3 separate regions of the Homo sapiens genome follow, and regions 2 and 3 are each linked to region 1. Evidence: promoter capture Hi-C in 16 types of primary human blood cells and fetal thymus (Javierre and others, 2016). All regions are on one chromosome and are shown on one strand. Each heading gives the region's core, a stretch centred on a gene start or on the middle of the fragment in contact. The rest is flanking DNA. Distances are from core to core; before and after follow the strand shown. Region 1 holds the start of BTG3 (BTG anti-proliferation factor 3). Region 2 holds the start of RBM11 (RNA binding motif protein 11). Region 3 holds the start of HSPA13 (heat shock protein family A (Hsp70) member 13).

Region 1 (3,538 bases), core at 501-3,000:
TCACCCCAGCCTTCAGAGTATCTGAGACTACAGCTGCATGCAACCACACCTGGCTAATTTGTGTATTTTTTGTAGAGATTGGGTTTCATGATGTTGGCCAGGTTGGTCTTGAACTCCTGGAGTCAAATGATCCTCTCTCCTTGACCTCCCAAAGTACTGGATTACAGGCATGAGCTACAGTGCCCAGCCTGAGAATTTTTTAAAAGTCATTTTGAAATTGGGTTTCAGGTTCTTGCCTGTATTTTTTGAATATGGTACTGCTCTAAGACTGGAAAATGTGGACCACAGATTTATAAATACTACACAAAATACTAATCCTAAACTATAGAAATTTCTGGACAAATTTTGAGTAATGTGGGTGGTTACCTAGCTATTTTATGAAACTGCAGAATTAAAGGCCTTTATCTGTAAAAATAACCTCATCAGATTGTTATGATTTTAAAATAAAAACACCTTCACACCTCCTAGAAGACTCCAAGGTGTAAATATCCTCTTTAAATGTACCAGTAAGTAGACTAAGTCCTAGAAGAGTATAATTTTTTTTTTTTACAAATAAAGTTTATTGTACTGTTTGGGGGATGGTATATTTATTACTGCTAAAAAAATTACCATTTTGAATTGCTAATTGGCTATAACAAAGATCAGTAATACAAATTTAAAACATTCATAAAACTGAGCTGAAAACATGCTCCCAAGCCTAGTGGGCAGTAAGGAATCTGGCCAATATACTGTACAACTTGAACATTCAGTTCTTAAGTAGTTTACAACATGGTTTAGCCCTCTTTTAATAATAATAATAAAAAGGTAGGAATATCTTGTATTCCTCCCGCTAGTTGGATGTATTAAAGTGCTTTCACAAAACTAAGACCATGGTGTTAACTCAATATAAAAGGTTGAAAAGATGTTCCTTCTTTTCTTCAGAAAGTTAATGTTCCCTCTCCATATTTGTATTTGCTCAAAGATGAAGCTTTGCATCTGGGAAGTCCTTGAGTAGAGTGTCTCAGAAATAGAAAGCCTGGACTCTCAAGGCTTCATTCCTTTGGCCAACATCTTTGGAGCCTCTCCTTTATGCAAAACACAGTGGCCGGTGCCAGGGCAGCACACAAGCGTCCACAGGAGGCAGGCCCTGCTGTGAGGGGCCAGGGAAGGGCCCAACTAGGAGTGCCAACAACCGCCTAAAATACAGCAGGGCGGCTGCACGGTTAACGTGCGTGTAATTGACTACAGCAAGAAGGATGAGGATCTGTCCATAAATGCCAAGTTCCCCTTCCCGTCGAGTCCGTGTCCCCCATGAAGCCCCGGGTCTAGAGAGCTGGGTCTAGAACTCGCCATTCCGCCCTGAGGGTGTCAAGTGCAGCGTGGAGAGACCTGAGGGGGAAACAAAAAGGCCGAGACAGCCGAAAGGACCAAGCCCGCGCGACCCCCGAAGGCGCTGACGCACGTAGGGCGGCCGGGCGGGGGTCCCACAGGCCTTCAGCGCCGCTTTTTGCCGGGGAGGGAAGCCCGCGGTTCTGCGGACCGCGCCGTCGCGGTCGAGGGTCTGCGCCAGGCTCAGGGTAGGGCGAGGGTGTGTCGCCTCCCGTGCGGCTAGGCCCGGGGCTCGGGGGTGGCCTCGCGGCGAAGCCCCGCCCCCGGCACCGCCCCTCAGGCGCGCGAGCCGATCCCGCGCGCGCCAACCCTTTCCCGGGTCATCGCCCCTCCCCTCTTCCGGGCCGCGAGCCCCCTGCGCGCCGCTTTGGGGCTGCGCTCACTCGTGTGCGCGCTCGTCCGCCCGCCAGTCCTCTCAACGCGCGCTTGGCCGCCCGACGACGCGGGAGCCGCACGCGCCGGACGAGGCTCGCTGCGCTCCCTGTTGCCCAGCGCGGGCCCGTTGAGGCGGAGCCCTCAGTTCCCGGCCAGGACACGGTCTGGGCCGCCGAATCTCCGGCCGAAGAGCGGCGGCGGCAGCGGCGGTGAGGAGACCGGGCCGGGGAAAGGCAGACATGGCGGGGCTGTGGGTATCGGGGGAGGGTGGTCCCGTCGCCCCTGCGGCCACGTCGAAGGCTCGCTGGCGGGCGGCGCACCGGGGACAGGGGAGGGGCAGGGGATGGAACCAGGTTGCATGGGCTCCGGCTCGGCGCCAGAGCGGGGCTGCGGGCCGCGAGGGCGGCCCGCGAGGCTTTCCGCGGGACCCTCGGCGGGCGCCTGAGGAAAAAGACGCCGCCTCAGGGCTCCTGCCACGTTTCCCACAGCGCGTTACATTCCGCCTCCGGGTGGGCGACAACCCCGCGGCTTCCCACCCTCTGTCCACCCCCTTCGCGTCGGTGTTTTTTCTGGAGCTCCGCTTGTTTGCTGGAGAGTCGCGCCTCCGGGAAGCCGGGTCCTCGAACCCAGGGCCGCCCGCCGGGGACAGCGGACCCGCGGGGCAGGCGCACCCTGGCGAGGATGTTGTCGGGGAGGCTGGGCATTGGGCGCCAGGGCCCTTCCCCTTGAACTTGGGGAAAACCGGGATTGCAGAAGTTGGGCGCAGCTCAAGGCGGTTCTTTCAAGAGCGGGTGGAGATGTTTGATCCCTCCTCACCTACCTCTCTCAAAACCCCAGCGGGAGAGCCTAGCAGCAGGTTTCGATGGCTTCAGAAAGTCCAACTCTTAGCCCCTTGGAAAATTATTTCCCCTCTTCATGGCTTTGTGGCGCCGCTGAGGTCGGGCCGGGGCTCCTCACCCCACGGGCCAGTCTTCTCGCGCCCTCCACCTTGGGAACGTCTATCAGGAGAAAAATGTGTTCCTAGAAACGTTTGCGATTAGCTTTTCGTTACAAGGGAGGGAAAAGTACAAAAGTTATAAACTCCTGCGAGGCCGAGCTTGATTCTGGATTCCCTTTGGGTTTTATCCACGCAGCCGTGAGCAGAGGAGCCTTGTGGAACAAAGTAGAACTTGAGGAGCAGCCGCCGCGGTGACGAGGTCCCAGGATGACGTCACCGTGCGATATTTAAAATGGGAGCCTTTTGCTCTGAGTGTGGGTGGAGGACGCCTACTTACTCAAGACGCCTGAGGTCTTCTTGGCCCTGCTTGCCTCTGGTGGTTCTTGCCCTGACTGTAACTCTCCCTCTTTCACCTTTTGGTACTCCTAGAATACTGGTGGGAGTGGGCTTATTTTTCAGCTGTTCGAGCTATCATTTCTTCAAACGGGGAAAACAAAAGTCCAAATGAGTCATCTTGTGTTACAACCAAAAGCAACCACTAAGTGGTTCTTTCCTTCTTTTCTATTTTTTTATATGAAGCAGAGCAAACAGAAACAAATCCAGAACTCAGATATGTGGCACATAGTTGGCAAATGTAATGAATGAGGAGAAAGATCTAGTTAAAAGATTCAGTACATTTCTTTAGTGTGGTTCCTTGTTTGCTTTGCTGGAGTGGAGGCTAATGTAGTTCCATCAGCAAAACTTTCTTCCCAACCCGTATATTAAATTGCCTTGGGTTTTCTTTTCCATCGTATCGTGGTGGAATATAAACGTAGCTTTACAAAGTGGAAATGGCTTACATTTTTCAGGAGGAGGCTG
Region 2 (3,538 bases), core at 561-3,060, 3.4 Mb after region 1:
TTGCTTAGGTGGAAGAAGGAACTGATAAAGAATGAGAAGATAATATATAGTCTTGTGGATCCACACAACTGATATTGATCGAGTCCTGATTGACTAAAAATAATGGTTATTGGATAATGCAATCCCACCCCAGTCTTCCACTCTCCTTTTTTTGGAGGCTCAAAGTGAAAGAAGTCTTCTGGAGAAAAATAACTCTAAGTTTACTTTATATTTCTTTCGGTTTTTGTTGTTGTTTTTTTTAACTTAATATAGTAAGTTTTAAATGATACTGAATGAAAAAACAGATATGGATTAGAGTTCATAAAAAAGGAGGCAAGTTTAAAAAGATGAATTAAAAGGATGAACCTAAAAGTCTTAAAATCAATAATATTTTTCAAATAATAAAAAAGTTTTACGTCCAGGAAAGGAAACTGTATTCCTGGAAAGAACCCTCTCTACCAAATTGTATCTACAATTAAAAGAGGGTTGCTTTAGTTAAGTTTCGAGACAAAAGTAAGTCCTTTCACAACCAAATAAAGGACCCCTTTGACCCATTCAATCCTGAAAATTTAGTTCTGTAATTGCCTCCCTCGGAACTTTCCCTTATTCTGATAGGAGAAAGTAACTATTGATTTCTCTTGATGTTAGTATTATTACTAATAATAACAGCAGTACCATTAGCAGTAGTAGCGGTAGCAAACAGCGAGTGCTAGACTCAGCTGTAGCCATTTTACCATTAGGCCACATATTCCGATAGCCACATTATACTGCAGATACTACTACTCTCTTTTGACATATAAGGAAACTGAAGCACTGAGGAATTCATTGACAGGCTCAGAGTCACACTGCTGACCTCAGAGTTCGCACGCGGAACCACTTTTCTATCTATGTCCCTTCTCTTTTTATAGATTATCGTAAACATTGTAATTTTAAGTTCTCCCTGTTAGGAAGATAAAAGGATGTCTCGTCAATTTGTTTTCCCAGCACCCTCAGTATTTGCCCCGTAATTCCGGATCATTACACGGTTAGGGGAATGGCTGAATGAGTGTATCTTTTTGGCAAGTGATACCTAGCTGTATAGGACAATACGATAAGTGAGCGTGTATACAGGACACAGCAGGCTTAATCCTAGAGGTACCAGATCTCAAAGTTTCCGAAGGTCCTCTTGGTATGAATTAAAGGGCCTTGTCCAGGGAATCACCTGGTCACAGTCACGGTAAGTTGGCTGCCAAATCATCTCAAATCTCACTTTTCATGCTGGAATAAAAATACTGTCCGCATAAAAGGGCTTGAAGGAAGGAGCAAGGTGTAAAAGGAAACATTATAAAAGCGACCCCTCTCCTTTTGGGGGATGTCAGGCGTGCTTACTACTTGACGGAGAACAGTGACCAGGCTGTTTTCGGTTCTGCCCGCGCACACCCGAGGCCCAGGCAGCCTCTGGGAAGCCCTTAATCAGAAACGGGGGTTGAAGGAACCACGTCCCTGCCCAACCCCAGGACTCTGCAGCGCGGATGGGGATGGGGAACGCGCCCTCATTTCACTCCCCAGCCGCTCACCTGGAGACAGGTGCGCCAAGAGGAAACGAAATTAAAACCCCTGCTCAGGATGGGACGGAAGGGGGCCGGGCTCCGGGTGGTCCAGGTGCGCGCTATGTTTCCGGCCCGACGTGCTCCGCCCCTCCGCCGCCCCTTCCCAGAGACGGTACCTGAAGGAACAGCTCGTACAGAATCTCTTCCCGAACTCGGGCCTCTAAATTCCCAACAAACACGGTCCTGTCGGCCTCCTCCTGAGCAGGGAACATCCTCCGGTCTCGGCCGTAGAATGAAGTAGGAGCTGAGACCCCGCCCCTTCTCCGGCTTTACGGCGCCGCCTGGGTGAGGGGGCGGGGCCGGCGCCGGGAGCGCGCGCTGGGGGCGAGGCATGGCTCCAGGGCCACGCCCCCAGCGGACTTGGGGTACCGCCCACCGCACTGCTCCCTCGCCTGGCGTAGGGCTGGGCGGTGGGAGAGTGGGTGAGAGTAAGAAAGATGAATGCAGAAAGGGCTTTACTCTTTAGCTAGTGGGGTGGCTTCCTTTTTTTCTGGCACATTAATTGATTTTGGATTTATTCAATCAACATTTTAAATAAAGTCACTGTAGAGATGATTTAAATTGTGGTAACTTCATTGCAGAAGCTCCCAGGCAAATGCGGGGAGATACATTTCTTTGGGTCCAAAGAATAAATGAACAAATCATGAAGATATTAAACTATAAATAATTTTTGAAAGAATCGATGTTTGCATGGATGTGGATACAACAGAAAACTAGAATTAAAGTTTATTTTCCTAGAAAGTGCTCCCTAGATGAGTTTTTGAAACTGGTCGCAGAGGTTTTAAGTGGACTCCAAAAGGAACTTGAGAAAGCAAATACCAAGGGATATACTGGTGAGAGTGAGCCAGTTTTGTGTCTAAGCCAGAATTTTTGAGGATGGCAGCTAGGGTTTGTGTCAGGATCCAACGGCTGTACTTTGTTTCAGGGCTATACTTTGTATATGGTGTACCAGGCTAAAGGCTTAGTTCTTTCTTGGGGATAATTTTTGTTTTTAATAAAAGTCTTATGAACAATAAAATTACAAGAAAGGAGAAAGAAAACTTAGAATCTCAATACTTTGATAAATCAGCTGTCAACTGTTAACTTGGCTTCCTTTCTGAAGCTACCATACGTCTACATAGGACCTTGAGATCATCTCATGAATATCATATAGGTGATCAGAACATTATTTGACCTTTAGTTTGGCATCGTGATAAAATTTCATTTTGAATTGAGGAAGCATGCTTTTATCTGGTTGATGGACCAAAAAAAGTCATCTTTTCTAATGAAAAGGTACACATTTTAGGAAATCCTAATTTCTAATTGATCTCTGACATTACATAGTTTTATTACTTTGAACAAGTAATTTCTCTTTGGAATTCGGATTCTGTTTCTTAAGGAATGGATTGGACTAAATATAGTTACTTCATTTAATAGGTATTTTCTGAATGCTTAATTCTTGGAAAACAAAGGGAAATATAAAAGTCTGACCTCCTAAAGCTTATACTTTGGGAGAGACAGCCTTTCTACCCTCACAAATATAATATAAATGCTAGTAACTTCAGTAGTTACCTTCAACTGATATAAGTCCTGTCTCCATTTTTTTTTTTCCTTTTTCTTTCCTCTATCATCAGTAGAGTTGCGGTACAGTAAGAAGGAGTTAAGGAAACACTCATATTGTAGGCAAATAAATATATGTTGATCAAATGAATGGATACTTGCAAGTCTCTGTTATGTGTAGACCTCTTGATTTATTTGTATTCATTTACTTCATAAATCTCATCAAAGCAACATATTTCCTCCTTGAATTCCCCTCAGACACTTCTTATATGCAAGCTGTATCTTCAGGTTTCAGTTTAAACCATTGCATGTATATGAGTGCGTATGCTACAAACCTTTAACTACACTTGTAATTAATGTTCATATTATATTGTTCTATTGAAATTTGCATCCTTCTTTGTCTACAAATGTGCATAATTTTGGTGTTATAA
Region 3 (3,538 bases), core at 1-2,500, 3.2 Mb after region 1:
GGAAGGGGGACTCAGTCGTCACTGGCAGCGGTTGAATGGAGGCTCTTTGCCCCGCGCCCTCACGGTAGATGAAGTCCTTGCTTTGGTCAGAGCGATAGCTTCTCCGATTGCCTCAGAGCAAGCGGACTACATTTCCCAGGGGGCTGCGGGACTGCCGGGAGGAGTGGGGGCGGTGCCTCACGTCTGGTACAGTCATCACAAGCCTGTTCGGCGGGACTGTGATGGCCAGAGAGATGACGATCTTAGGTGGGTTCCCGGGGGTCCTTGTTGCTCTTGCGGGCGTAGAGGCGATCTGAGGATGCCAGAGTGGGCAGGGGTGGTTGACTCACCTCCTGGATCTAGCTGGAGCAGCGGAAGGGGAGTCAGAAAGGTGACTTAGAGACGGTTTTCGGCTGTTCGGAGTGGATGGGGGCGGGGACGCCTCTAGGAGGGCCCCGGCCCCTGCAGGCCAAGGTAGGATAGACGGCGACCAGCTGTGTCCATCCCAGGGACATCAGGCTTAGGGAGGCGTTCCTTTCAACAGCACCTAGGTTTTTGAATTGCCTGTTGAATTGGGGCAAGCTATGGAAGGCTGCGAGAACGTGCACCTCCAGGACCCCTTTGTGGAGGAAGGGGGAGGAGCTACATCCGGATCTGTCGGCTCAGGGATGCTGAATTTGGAGGCTTTTTCCATCACATCGGGTTTGGAATTACCTATCCCCCACCCACACACACACCCACCCCGCGTCTCCAAGGTGATGAAATGCTTCTGAAATGTTGCCTGTAGCTGGAAGTGGAAAGTGGGATTCGCACTTGGTTTTATTTCTTTGAGTTATGTGTTGATGAGGATGAGCTAACAATTAGTAACACAGAGCCCTGAAAATTCATGTTTTGGGTCATATGTAATATGAGCGGACACAGGTGTATAACACAGCCTCCTGATACCAAATACGAGATTCATTAAAAACTAAAGGGGCATCTTTCTTCGCTTATGTTTACAATCTGCGTGGCATTTGTTCCTACTCTTTTTTCTTTTTTTTTTAAATTAGTATTTGTTGGGCATCTGCTATTCCTGGTCTGGGGGATACAACAGTGAACGAAACTTGTCTTCAAGAAGCTTTCATAGATGTTGCCGTCAGGGTTGCCCACCTTTATGCTTCTTCTCCCCTAAATATTACCACTGCAAGAAGGAAGTCCCTAGTTCATACTTAAATACATAAAAAGTTAACTGTGTTCTGTTTTGAAGTGACAGTTTCATATCTAAGGAACTTTCAAAATCATTTTATCCCATTTATTCATTTCATCCTTTTGAAAGGGAAAAGGAGGTGAGATACGAGGAGAGAATTTTAGACTTATAAAATAATAAAGTTTTTCTTGTGAGAATTTTAATAATGGAGCTTTTAAAAAAAGATAATCGAAGCTTTTTATAAAGCTGTAAAATCTAAATATCAATTGATCAAGAATATTAGATTATATCTGGCTTTTGCTCCAGATAAATGTTGTTTCTTGTCAGCATCTGCACAAATATTATTGAAATATTTTTACATTTTATTACATTTATTAGAGAATGACACAAACATACAGTTATAGGGTTTTTTGTTGTTTGTGTTTACTTCATTTTAAATTTTATTATAACCAGTTTACATTTTGAAAAACTTGCTGTCTGAGAGGAGTGCTATCAGCAGTCCTATAAAAAATTTTGAAATTTGTCTTTTTTAGCCTTGTTTCAACGAGTGATATTAAAGGGACTTTGCTACAGTAATTTAGTACATTGTACTAGTTTGATAAAATACATCTTTTAATTTTCCTTTATTTCAGGATCGGCTGTTTTGACTCTCCTGTTGGCCGGCTATTTGGCACAACAGTATTTACCATTGCCTACTCCTAAAGTGATTGGTATTGATCTTGGCACCACCTATTGTTCTGTTGGGGTGTTTTTTCCTGGCACAGGAAAAGTAAAGGTGATTCCAGATGAAAATGGGCATATCAGCATACCCAGCATGGTGTCTTTTACTGACAATGATGTATATGTGGGATATGAAAGCGTAGAGCTGGCAGATTCAAATCCTCAAAACACAATATATGATGCCAAAAGATTCATAGGCAAGATTTTTACCGCAGAAGAGTTGGAGGCTGAAATTGGCAGATACCCATTTAAGGTAAGTGATTAATCTAAAATCTATATTAATTTTAGTGTACTCTTTTAGTTAATGCTTTGGCTTCATGTCACAAAACATTCTATCTCGTCTAGTTTTATCTATTAATACATGAAAGTTCTGTTATCTCACATAACCAGAAATTCCACAGCAGCTATAGGATCAGTTAATCACTGACTCCATAATGCTAACAGGTACTTAAGGCCTTGCCATTTTCTTGCTGTCCCATCCTCAGCATGTCTTGCTTAGCTCTTTCAAGGTAGCAGGAAGGTTGATGAAGCCCTGTGTACCATAGATAGATATTCTGTGTGTGTATGTGTACATATTTATATACATATAAAGAGAACATACCAGGTGTGCTATTTTTTGCTATTTAATATGTCATGGATAATTAATAGGATCATGTCATTATCTTTAATGATTTTGTGGAATGACTATTCCATTATTAATTAGACTAGTCTCTATCAGTGTACTTTTTTGTGGTTTTTCACTAATGTTGGAGATTCCGGTAATATCCTTACTTATCTTTGTACACTTCTCTGAAAGTTTCCTAACTTGAATGCTAGAAGTCTAATTGATAGGTCAAATGTGTACGTTTTTAAGGCTTTTGATTTATTTTTCTGGTTTGCTCACCAGAAAGGTTATATGCTCTTAACCATAATTTTTTAGAGTGGCTGTATCTTCGCTAGTTATTTTTTTTAATCTTTAACAGTCAGATAAGTGAAAAATAGTATCCTGTATTAATTTTTATTTATTTTGATTTTTTTTAGTGAGATCAGAATTTTTAGAATTTTATTGATATTTTAATTTTCTTTTATGGTCCATTTTTCTTTGTCCTTTTTTGTTTTGGTGTGTTTTTCTTTTCCTTAGTGAGCTATAAAAGACCTTCATTATATGTTTTTGTTATCTTTTCCTTACCTTTTTTTTTTCACTGATGTTTTTGAGCTGGATGTCAAAGTTTTAAATTTTTGATTTTAGACTCTTATCATGTTTACTGTAGCCTATCCCATCCTATCCACTGCTACTTTTTTTTCCCTCTTAATACGTTTATGTATTTGTTGGTTTGGATTTCGCTGCTTTTTTTTTCTTTTAAACATTTAAAGCTTTTTTCCATGTGGAGTTTTTCTTGGAAGTTATGAAGTGAAATTCTAAATGAAGTGAAATTCTAAATGAATTAGTTTTTGTTTTTTTTTTTGAGACAGTCTCATTCTGTCTCTCAGGCTGGAATGCAATGGCATGATCTTGGCTCACTGCAACCTCTGCCTCCCAGGTTCAAGTGATTCTCCTCCCTCAGCCTCCCAAGCTGGCATTACAGGCGTGTGCCACCACGCCTGGCTAATTTTTGTATTTTTAGTAGAGACGGGATTTCACCATGCCGGCCATTATTTAGTTTCAAAATAGAC

The links. Contacts are between HindIII fragments. The CHiCAGO score rates a contact against its expected background, and 5 or more counts as called.
Region 2: the fragment with the promoter of RBM11 here is called in contact with the fragment with the promoter of BTG3 in region 1 in 1 of 17 cell types (non-activated CD4 T cells); the score reaches 5.3 in non-activated CD4 T cells.
Region 3: a contact is called between a fragment that was not itself captured here and the fragment with the promoter of BTG3 in region 1, in 1 of 17 cell types (non-activated CD4 T cells). The highest score is 5.9, in non-activated CD4 T cells.

The regions. Positions count from the first base shown.
Region 1 is chr21:17,611,113-17,614,650 of GRCh38, reverse strand. It overlaps BTG3 (BTG anti-proliferation factor 3), which reads left to right and starts at 1,750. Exons shown (of 5, transcript NM_006806.5): 1 at 1,750-1,952. It overlaps BTG3-AS1 (BTG3 antisense RNA 1), which reads right to left and starts at 2,965. Exons shown (of 1, transcript NR_149073.1): 1 at 537-2,965. It also overlaps a transcript of CXADR not described here. The HindIII fragment of the contact is 7,083 bases long and covers 970-3,538 here.
Region 2 is chr21:14,214,429-14,217,966 of GRCh38, reverse strand. RBM11 (RNA binding motif protein 11) reads right to left here and starts at 1,810. Exons shown (of 5, transcript NM_144770.5): 1 at 1,685-1,810. The coding sequence starts at 1,780. RefSeq lists a silencer at 1,764-1,993. The HindIII fragment of the contact is 12,542 bases long and covers 1-3,049 here.
Region 3 is chr21:14,379,803-14,383,340 of GRCh38, reverse strand. HSPA13 (heat shock protein family A (Hsp70) member 13) reads left to right here and starts at 195. Exons shown (of 5, transcript NM_006948.5): 1 at 195-246; 2 at 1,798-2,138. The coding sequence starts at 222. It overlaps LOC105369304 (a long non-coding RNA gene), which reads right to left and starts at 575. Exons shown (of 2, transcript XR_007067924.1): 1 at 1-575. RefSeq lists an enhancer at 179-488. The HindIII fragment of the contact is 303 bases long and covers 1,099-1,401 here.